2 separate regions of the Homo sapiens genome follow, and region 1 is linked to region 2. The links are contacts of gene promoters, found by promoter capture Hi-C in blood cells and fetal thymus (Javierre and others, 2016). All regions are on one chromosome and are shown on one strand. Each heading gives the region's core, a stretch centred on a gene start or on the middle of the fragment in contact. The rest is flanking DNA. Distances are from core to core; before and after follow the strand shown. Region 1 overlaps LINC01653 (long intergenic non-protein coding RNA 1653). Region 2 holds the start of USH2A (usherin).

Region 1 (5,455 bases), core at 1,190-3,689, 1.6 Mb after region 2:
GCAGTTAAGTTGCTGTGGGCTAAATTGTAGCTAATGAAGTGTGGACAGATATTACATAAGTCACTTCCAGGTCTGGCCCTAAAAACATTTTGTTGAGTCTCAGCTCTCTCTTTCCTTTCCTCAGTAACCTTGGGGCCACAAGCATCAGATTGTGTAGCTAAGAAATGAGGAAGGGCCGGGCGCGTGCCTCACACCTGTAACCCCAGCACTTTGGGAGGCCGACGTGGGCGGATCACGAGGTCAAGAGTTTGAGACTATCCTGGCCAACATGGTGAAACCCCGTCTCTACTAAAAATACAAAAATTTGCTGGGGGTGGTGGCATGAGCCTGTAGTCCCAGCTACTTGGGAGGCTGAGGCAGGAGAATCGCTTGCACCCGGAAGGCAGAGTTTGCAGTCAGCCAAGATTACACCACTGCACTCCAGCCTGGCGACAGAGCGAGACCCCATCTCAAAAAAAAAAAAAGAAAAGAAAAAGAAATGAGGAAGTGCAGTATGAGACTGTAACATACAACTTTTAGTATGTTCAGCCACCAAGATGTCAGTTTGTCTGTTGTGGCTGCTGGTTAAATTACCCTTCATAATGCAGAAGAGGAGACACAAGCAGGAGTGATTCAAAAATATATAAATCCCTCATTGGTACAGCCAGACATTAGTTCTACAGAATTCTCATAACTACAGAGCTGCTTTTTCTCCTGCTGCTCAGAGAATAACAAAAATTAAAGCTGAGCAAATTAAATAGTGAATTAGGACAGAATGAGACAGAAGATGCACCCATTAGGATCAATGAGAAGCAGACAGTAACTTTTCTAAGGAAAATACATTAAATGAGCAGCTGAGGAGTTCAATACTAAGACACTTAGTTCCACAGACTAGCTGCCTGGGAAGTGGGGAAAGTTGGGGGATGACTTTCAGACATAATTACAAAGGCAAATGCCAAGAAAAGCTGAAATGCTGAAAGTAGGGGGAGCTGAGGCAGGAGGATTGCTTAAGCCCAGGAGGTCGAGTCCACCCTGGGCAACACAGCAATAAAAACAAAAACAAAACAAAAAAACAAGTTAAGGTACGGCCAGGAGCGTGGTTCACACCTGTAATCCCAGAAATTTAGGAGGCCAAGGAGGGTAGATCACTTGAGGCCAGGAGTTTGAGACCAGCCTGAGCAATATGGTGAAACCCTGTCTCTACTAAAAATACAAAAATTAGCTGGAAGTGGTGGCAGGTGCCTGTAATCCCAGCTACCTGGGAGACTGAGGCAGGAGAATCACTTGAACCTGGGAGGTGAAGGTTGCAGTGAGCCAAGATCACGCCACTGCATTCCAGCCTGCGCAACAGAGTAAGGCTCCATCTCCAAAAAAAAAAAAAAAAAAAAAACAAGAAGTTAAGGTACATTTGGAAATTATAATGACTAATGATATTATAGATAAAATAATAATTATTATAATACCCCTTATTTAAATTAATGGATATATCACATTGCAAACACCATGTCTATTAACATAGTTATGTATTTGGCTTCTTTTTCTTTTCTTTTTTCTTTTTTTAGCTGGGGCCTCACTGTGCTGCCCAGCCTAGTCTCAAGCTTCTGGGCTCAAAGGATCAAGATATCCTCTCACTGTATCCTCCTAAGTAGCTGGGCTGATAACCACCAGCCATCACACCCAGCTCATATTTGGAGTCTTATTTCTTTTATTTATATATTTACACATTTTTATTTGTACTCACACATACATATTAGAATTAGTATCACACACCCAAGGCTATTCTGTTTCATTAATCTGTCAGTATTTAGTGCCAAGACAGCTTTTGTTTTTAAAACCCTTATTGGGTTTTATTTTGGAAACTATGAAAAATGTGTACTATTTTGGGGATTATTAAAAAACTCTTTGTAGACTATTTGGAAAATAAGGAAAAGTATTTTAAAAAATCTCTCCTACCACCTAGATAATATATTAACATTCCTGTGAATGTGTGTATGCCAATTATGTAAATTATAGCCAAATTGAAAGCATACTTTTTATTCAGATTTGTTTTGTGATTTTTTTCTCCTACCATTTACTTGTTATTAAAAACTCCATTGGTTTTCCAACTCGGTGAGAGCTAAATCTAAATCTATGTACAATGGGTACGCTGGCTACAGGTGTGCCCGGATGTTGACTCCCTCAGCTAACAGAGCTACTCAGTGGGGCCTGCGGCTGCTGGCAGGCTCATCCATTTATGCCAGTGTGTTGTAGAAACAGAATTTTCTCTGCCATAACATGAAAAACCTTCAGAAACATTCTAGTCTAGTATCATCTCTCTCAGTAAACATTTCTGGATATTTGCATTAAATTTGTTAACGATACTTATAATTACTGGGGTTTTTTTGTTTTGTTTTCATTTTTTTGTTTTTAAAAAGAGTCTTGCTCTGTCGCCCAGGCTGGAGTGCAGTGATGTCACCATAGCTCACTGCAGACTAAACCTCCTAGGCTCAAGCACTCCTTCCACCTCAGCCTCCCAAGTAGCTGGGACTACAGAAGTGTGCCACTGCACCCTGGAGATTTTGAAATTTTTTTTTTGTAGAGACAGGATCTCACTATGCTGTCCAGGCTGGTCTCGAACTCCTGGGCTCAAGTGATCCTCCCATGACCTGCACCAGGCCTCTACTTATTGTTTATTGTAATAATGCATTAGCTCTGTTTAATCACCATTCATTTATGTTATACCATTCTGATGCTTTAATTCATTTTTCATTTTGCTTGAGTTTATCTTTATGGTATTTCTTCTTAGACAAGGTATAAAAGTGGCATATTTTTGAGCCCTTCTTAAGCTGAGAGCCTTTTTGGCTTAGCACATGAGTGATAAGTTGGCTTGCTATTTAATTCGTAAGTGGCAATCTGTTTCCCTATCATCTTTTGTCATTGAATGTGGTAGAAGAGAAGTCTGAAGCCAGTTTCTTTATGGAAACCTAGCTTTTCTATTTGGATGCTTACAGTTATTATTGCAATTATTCTTAAAATTCAAAATTTTTCCTAGTATATGGGTATACTAGGAAATATGATAGTTTGATTAAAAGAAATCAAAATTACCTAGATTTTAAACATCCCTTACAATTTTAGATTGGTATTTATTGAGCTTGGAATTGTTTTCTATTATAACTGTGATTAGTTCTATCTTTCTGATCTATCCCTCTGGAATATAATTAGTTAATTTGTTAATTATACAATTGTTTGTTGAGTACCTATTATGTATCATCATACCCTGTGTTAGGGCAGGGTGGACATAGTGGTGGACAAGAAAGAGTTGTTGCTTCCTTCATTGATTTCAGAAGCTTAATAAGCAAAGTTATTCCTAACAATTGAGGCACAGTATAGGATCCTAACTCCTAGGAAGATGCATATTTATAATACTTGGTAGGAGTATTCATTCTTCATTCTCTGTGTCTGCCCTCTTATTTTGTTTTATATCTATGTCATTATGCTTTGCATTTTACACTACTCTTTCAGGCTTTTCTCCCTCATCTTTATTTGTTTATTTATTTATTTATTTCCTGAGACAGGGTGTCACTCTGTTGCCCAGTCTGAAATGCAGTGGTGCCATCTCAGCTTATTGCAGCCTTCACCTCCCAGGCTCCAGTGATCCTCCCACCTTAGCTTCTCAAATAGCTGGGACCAGGCGCCACCACGCCTGGCTAATTTTTGTATTTTTTTGTTTTGTGAAGATAGGGTTTTGCATGTTGCCTAGGATGTTCTCAAACTTCTGGCTGAAGCAATCCACCCACCTCAGCCTCCCAAAGTTCTGGGATTACAGGCGTTAGCCACTGCACCCAGCCTCTCAACACTCTTTAAAGTTTCTGAAGTTTCATTTCTACTCTTAAGTAGTTTTTAGTATACTTTAGGGTTGCACAACCATCACCACAATTTATCTAATCTTGGATACTTGGAACCCTTTTATCACCCCCCAAAAGAAACCCCGTACCTATTAGCAGCCGCTCCCCACCCTCAAACCACCCCCAGCCTTTGGAAAGCACTCATCCACTTTCTGTCTCTATTGATCTGCCAATTATGGACATTTTATATAAATGAAATCATACAGTAAGTGGCCTTTTGAACCTAGTTTCTTTCACTTAGTACATGTTCAAGATTCGTCCATATTATAACACAAATCAGTATTTTACTTACTTTTATGGGCAAATAACATTTCATTATAAGGATATACCACAATTTGCTTCTCCATTCATCAGCTGAGGAACATTTGGGTTGTTTCCACTTCGTAGCCATCTTGAATAATGCCGTTATCAACAATTTGTGTACAACTTTTTTCATAAACATATGTTTTCACTTTTCTTGGATATTTGCCTAGGAGTGAAATTACTGGGTCATATGAGAAGCCTATGTTTAAGTTTTTAAGAAACTACCAGACTGTTTTTCATGGCATCTTCACTATTTTACATTCCCACTAGCAATGTATGTGGTTTCCAATTTTTTCACATCCTCACTAACACTTCTTATTTTCCTTTTTTTAAAAAAAGATTTTAGCCATCCTTGTGGGTATGAAGTGGTATCTCATTGTGACATTAATATACATTTCCCTAATGACTAACAATGTTAAGCACCTTTTCATGTGCTTGTTGGCCATTTGTGTATCTTCTTTGGAGAAATATCTGTTTAAATCTGTTGTCCATTTTTCAGTTGCCTGTTTGTCTTTTTGTTGTTGAGTTGTAAGAAATCTTTATATATTCTGAATACCAGAACTTTATTAGGTATATGATTTACACATATTTTTTCCCATTCTGTGGGTTGTTGTTTCACTTTCTTGGTATTGTCTTTTGATGCATAATCATTTTCAATTTTGAGGAAGTCCAATATATATACTTTTTCTTTGGTTGCTTGTGCTTTTGGTGTCATATCTAAGAAACCATTGTCTATTCCAAGGTCATGAAGATTTATACTCATGTTTTCTTCGGAGTTTTATACCTTTAGCTTACATTTAAGTTTTTGATGCATTTAGAGTTAATTTTTACACATGATAGAAAGTAGGGATTCAAGTTTATTCTTTTGCAAATGAATATCCAGTTGTCCCAGCATCATTTGGTGAAGACTATGCTTTCACCATTGAGTGATCGTGGCATCCTTGTTGAAAACCAGATAACCATAGATCTATGGGTTAATTTCTGGACTTTTGCTTTTATTCCATTGATCTACGTGTCTATTCTTTTGCAAATATCACGCTGTCTTTATCACTGTAGCTTTACATAAGTTTAAAATCAGGAAGTGAGAATCCTCCAACTTTGTTCTTCCATTTCAAGATCATTTTGGCTACTCTGGGACTCCTGCAAATTTTAAAATTTTGACAGGTATTGCATTGAATCTGTAAATCAATTTGGGGAGTATTGTTTGCAATAGTAACAATTTTAAGTCTTTCAATCAGAAACATAGAATATTAGTCCACTTATTCGGATCTTTAATTTCTTTCAACAAT
Region 2 (5,451 bases), core at 2,596-5,095:
GTAATAACACTCATCCATCTGTACACTCCATTAGATCATTTAGATCATGAGTATTCTGAGGATACACACACAAACACCTAGGATACAGTAGTCTCTCAAAAAATGATGAGTTTGTGATCAAATTTGGTAGGAAGTATCAGAGAGGCAAATGTATAAAATTGAGCCAATCAAGAATTACTGCTAAAGATGGTTTAAAGCTTTCCTTAAAGGGCATGTTTTTCACACATAATTTCTTCTCACTTGCATCTATCACTTGCATCTATTTTTTTCCTGAGTTGGGAGGTAAGAATAAGATTGTAAAACACTAATAGTCCCTCATTTACTGTCACAATTTTACTATATTTTGTATGTATATTTGGTATAAAGTTATGAGTGCAAGTATATTTTTAATTTAGGCAAATAGATTTAGATGACATAAAGGTTTTATATAAGTAGAAATAAAAGTTTTATATAAATTCTACTGCAAATTATATTTTTAACCCTTCAGTAGTTGAATATTTCTAATTTACTGAAGTGAATTTGTTTTTATCCCTACCCATCAGGTCTTAACCTGAAAAGAGTTTGCCCCTATTCATTTTTCTTCTGTTTAAATCTACAAGTGAGAATTCGACCATTACTCAAGAATGTATTTACCAAATGCAGACTTATTTTCCCAAGCTTACTGAAAATGCATTTCTTAATATGTTATTGATTATCTTCCTTGCTATTTTGTTTGCTTGTAAACATACTAGCTTTGGTAGATAATAAATGTGAGAGGAAGGCAGGTAGCAAAATATTTAGGAACTGGATTTATTCTGCTCCTGAATAAACAATAATTGGATAATCCATGTTTTGTTTGTTTTACTTATCTAGTGCAAACACCCCGAAATTCCCCCAATTCCCAAAGGTATTTTAATTTTGAAAATGGAAACGACCTTGATACAAGGAACTCTCAAAACCATTAACCATGTTCTTCCAACCCTGTAAATACTTCTCTGTCTTATTTATACAAAATGATGTCAATAGAAGATGAATTTGGTACAGATATGTCCCTACAAGCTCAGAAGGATATTTTATCTTAGCCCTATTTGTCAAAAGACAATGTTTTAAGACTCTTCAGATGTTAATTATATAAACTGAGTAGCTTGAATTTACTAGAATTTCAAACAGTAAGAAAACAAGGTTTTCTTTGAGGAGAGATGTAGAAATGGGAATGGTTTGTGATTAATTTTGTGATTAATCCAAATTTAAAACAAAATGAAGACATGCCAACTTTCACTTGGCAAATTGAAACTAAACACCAAAAACATTTAAGTCCTATTTGCTTATGAGATTGTAATCCTTTTCTGGTTTGTTTCACAAGTTTTTAGATATCCAGCCAACGCTGTCACACACAGAAAATGTCACAAGAGAAAGGGCCAAAAGCCCTCTAGGAAGAAAAAAGATAAGCAAAAATTCCTCAAAACTGTCCTGTATATTAAAATCTCCAGGTTGGCAATAAATATTTAGAAGAAACTCATTAGATATCAGCTTGAGAAAAGATTACAGAATGAAAAACTGGTGATTAAATAACAAAAAATGGCAGTAATAAGACCCAGACTCATTGAAGGCATTTCTCTGGGATGAACAGCATGAAAGCTTTTGAGAATCTCTCACACTTACCTACATATTTCCTAACTAATTGGAAAATGAAAATACCACAAGATAAAGAACTAAAAGCTATATGTTTTTAGAGATGGAGGGTTATTTATATATTCAATTTATATTACTGAACATCTTCCATGAGTCAAACAAACAGCTCTTCTTGGGGAAACGAGGATGAAGAAAACAGTCCCAAGGACTGGGAGAACTATCTGCCTAATGAAAATGTTATACCCTAGTAAGGAAATGTTGATTATATAAACCCAGTTCAAGATTTTGAAAATATTAATTATTTGTATTAATTACAAGTTTCCATGCCTTAAAACTCACTCTGAGTCTTCTTTAGGCTTTGAAGGCTAAGACCAAAGGTCGCGCTAAGCTATAGAAAATAAATGATTCCTGCATAAACACATTTGCCTTTGATAAACTATTTTCACATTTTTTTTCATGGTCCATTTCATCCATAGAAGAGAAAAAAATTTTAATTGGGGAAACAACTGGAAGAGTTAGTCTTCAATACCATGAATTCTATATAGCCTTCACTTCCGGTTTGGAATTCAGGCTGAAATGATCTTCACTACTACTGGTTTTGGGGACCTATGAAAGCTTATACCTACACTACTACTTACATTACACCTTGTTGCTCAGGTTTCAGCCATACAGCTAAGGTAAATGATGCCATCAGCTTTGGAGAAGGAGGAGAAGAAAAGCAGCTCTTGTGATTTCCAAAAATAAAACTTGCAGAATTGCTATGGGCGTTAGGATGCAGATCATTCTTGTCTGGTGTGATGCAGCTACTGAGGCCTGCTGAGAAAAGGGCAGTGTAGGTAGGGTGTGAAGATCTGTATGGGCAATCCTGAATACAAAACCGCTGGGTACAGAACTGAATACTTTCAGCAGCAGCAGAGCTGTGACAAAAAGTGCTTCGGTCTGGGAGTCCACATACTGCTTGGGTTGGCACGATGGAAACTTTCTTGAAAGCTCCCACGTTCTCCAGCCTTGGGAAAAGACCTCGTGACTCAGTCAAGGATATTGAAGCAAAATAGGCAAAGATCAACATTTCAATGACCTGAAACAAGAAGCCAGAGCCCAATGAAAGAACTGGGCAATTCATGTTTACAAAAAAGCATTCTCCTCCTGATAAAGCATTTCTAAATAAATAATCAGGCCCACGCCACTTGCCAGCAATACTTTGAAGCAGGGTACTTTAAGTGATGTTGCGATACTCCATTTTCTGGAAACTGCAGACACGTTCTCAGAGTAAGGTAATACCAACGACGTTCTTAGCAATGGCGAAGACATGAGTAGCTGCTGGTATCTGGGAATCAAAAACGTAGGGCGTCAAGGGAAAGCTGCTGCACCTTTAAAACTGAAGCTCATCCCAGGCCTGAGGACTTTGAGCTCCTAGAAGCAACACTACTGAACTTCTCAAAAAACATTTTGAAGCACAGTGCTCAGAGTAAAATACTCATCCTTTTGGTAAATCTCTTGATTGCATTGGGCAAATCAAGCACTTTATAAGTCCACAGGACAACCAGTAATATTTATAACCAGTTATACATAAATATTTATATAATATATGTGTGTGTTTTATATATATATAATTATTAATAATATATTACACATACAATAATTTTGTGTTGTTACTTCACCCCAGGGAATTAGCAATGGCATTACCAGCTCTACTTAACAGGGAAAAGAATCTTGTAGATTTTCTTTACACATGCACTGTACATTGTAACCCAGAGCTAACTTACAGATGCCCAAAATAAAGCTGGCAAAGGACTTTGGGCCTTTCCCCTTATCCCAGCATGTGCAGCAACTTTAAGCTCAGAGTAAAGCTGATTAGAAACCCAACACCATCTGTCTGTCCTATGCTTTAATATTTAGCAAAATGTTTCTGTGTTTCCTCATATGACTATGAATTTGTAGGTTACACATGGATCCCTAATACTGTGCAAGTAATTGTATTGATAAATAAGCTGAGTTACCATTTCTTTATTGCATTTCAACCAGTCCCCTCAGTGTGACAAATGGCTCTTCAACAGGACCGCTGTCCCTCGTTGCCTGGCAACGCTGCTGTAACCCCTGGTTACTCAGCAAATAGGCTGTAGCAGCAGGAATGCTGGAAGGAAGACTTGGGTGCCCAGGTAAAGTATTCTGCAGAGCAAACACTTGGTTACCTGAAGCTCAGAGCGTGGTCTGCTTGGTGGCCCTCTTGGAACTGAGCTGCCCAAGCTTTCCGCTGGTACCTCAAGCAGTGGGAGGGACCTGGATGGGATCATGCATACATAATTTTAAAGTAGCAGTACACCTTATCCTATAATCCCCCCTCTTGCCCCTCCTCTTTCTTGCTCTCATGCACCTCAATCCATTTAATTCCTTAATCAAAATGATCTACCACTATTAAACACCACACAAGGAATAATTTCCAGTGCTCTTTCTTTTTGGGGGAGAAGAGGATACAAAATGGAATTCTAAACTTTTATATATTGATGCTCCCAAAGCTTGGCCCATTGATAGAAGTTTCGGTTGACTATTCAGTTGTTGCTGTACCTTTCACCCAGGATAACCTCTCCATAATACATGCTTCCTTACATTATGAGTAGCATCTGATGTGATCTCTAAATGTTGGGTTTGGAAAATCAGTGACTTTAATTAAACTAAAGAAGCAATGGGATTGCTGACTTTTTGGCTGCTTAATTGGATAGGAACGTGTGTGTGTGTGTATATGTGCACATTTGCCACCAATTCTATAGAGTTTCAATTATATCCAAAACTCTCTCTACTCTGCCATCTGGGACATCTCATCCTAGATGAGAAATATTCTAAATCAGCTAATACTTGTAGCTTTCCCTTTGTATTGTAAAAATGGAAAATTTGTTTGGGAAATAACTGGTCGATTGTGATTTTGTTCTCTATAAGTTATCTTTTTTATAGAAATGTTTAGAAATGAGAGAAATGTTTCATGGTGTTTCTTGTTAGTAAAGCAGCCAGAGAAAAACCAACATTGTTCTTTATTAGATTCCCTTTTATTTCTCTCCCAGAAGAGAGCTGGAAACCACAACCCATTTATATATCAATTTTATCAATTAGCATTAGTTGCTTCCAGAAGAAGCCTTTCTCACCCTTTGTCAAAATACGCTATTACATTCTTACCAGAAAAACTTTAATTTAAAACAAATTTTAGGGCAAAGCACAATGGCTCATGCTTGTGCCTCCTAGGGATTTGGGAGGCCAAGGTGGGAGGATTGCTTGAAGCCAGGAGTTCAAGACCATGCTGTGCAACATAGTGAAATCCCACGTCTCCAAAAAAAAAATAAAAATAAAAATAAAAATAAAAAAATTTAAGCCAGGCATGGTGGCACACACTCGTAGTCCCAGCTACTTAGGATGCTGAGGTGGGAGGGTTGTTGAGCCCAGGATTTCGAGGCTGCAGTAAACTATTATCACACCACCACTGCACTTTAACCTGGATGACAGAGTGAGACCATGTCTCTAAAAAAAAATTTTTTTAAACCCAAATTTTAGTATAAAGTCAGCTAATATGTAAGGACTTCTCAGAACTTGGGAAACTATCTTTGAAAATAGGTATTATAGAGCACAGTGAATTAGACAAATGGATTATTCAGACCTGCTACAAAACATGAAGTCAACCTACTTTCAAACAAGGTATTCAATGGCTGGCTTCTCTTTATATCTTGTGAATCCAAGAACTAATTCTCATTTTTTCTAAACTTTTATTTTAGGTTCAGGGGTACATTTGGAGGTTTGTTATATAGGTAAATTGTGTGTCATGGGGGTTAGATGTACAGATTATGTCATCATCCA

What was found. Contacts are between HindIII fragments. The CHiCAGO score rates a contact against its expected background, and 5 or more counts as called.
Region 1: a contact is called between a fragment that was not itself captured here and the fragment with the promoter of USH2A in region 2, in 1 of 17 cell types (M0 macrophages). The highest score is 6.1, in M0 macrophages.

Annotation. Positions count from the first base shown.
Region 1 is chr1:218,052,428-218,057,882 of GRCh38, forward strand. All of the region lies in intron 3 of LINC01653 (long intergenic non-protein coding RNA 1653), which reads left to right. Among named protein-coding and RNA genes, the nearest start is that of LINC01653, 12 kb to the left of the region's middle. The HindIII fragment of the contact is 1,728 bases long and covers 1,576-3,303 here.
Region 2 is chr1:216,419,603-216,425,053 of GRCh38, forward strand. USH2A (usherin) reads right to left here and starts at 3,846. Exons shown (of 72, transcript NM_206933.4): 1 at 3,612-3,846; 2 at 2,250-2,938. The coding sequence starts at 2,734. The HindIII fragment of the contact is 1,632 bases long and covers 2,225-3,856 here.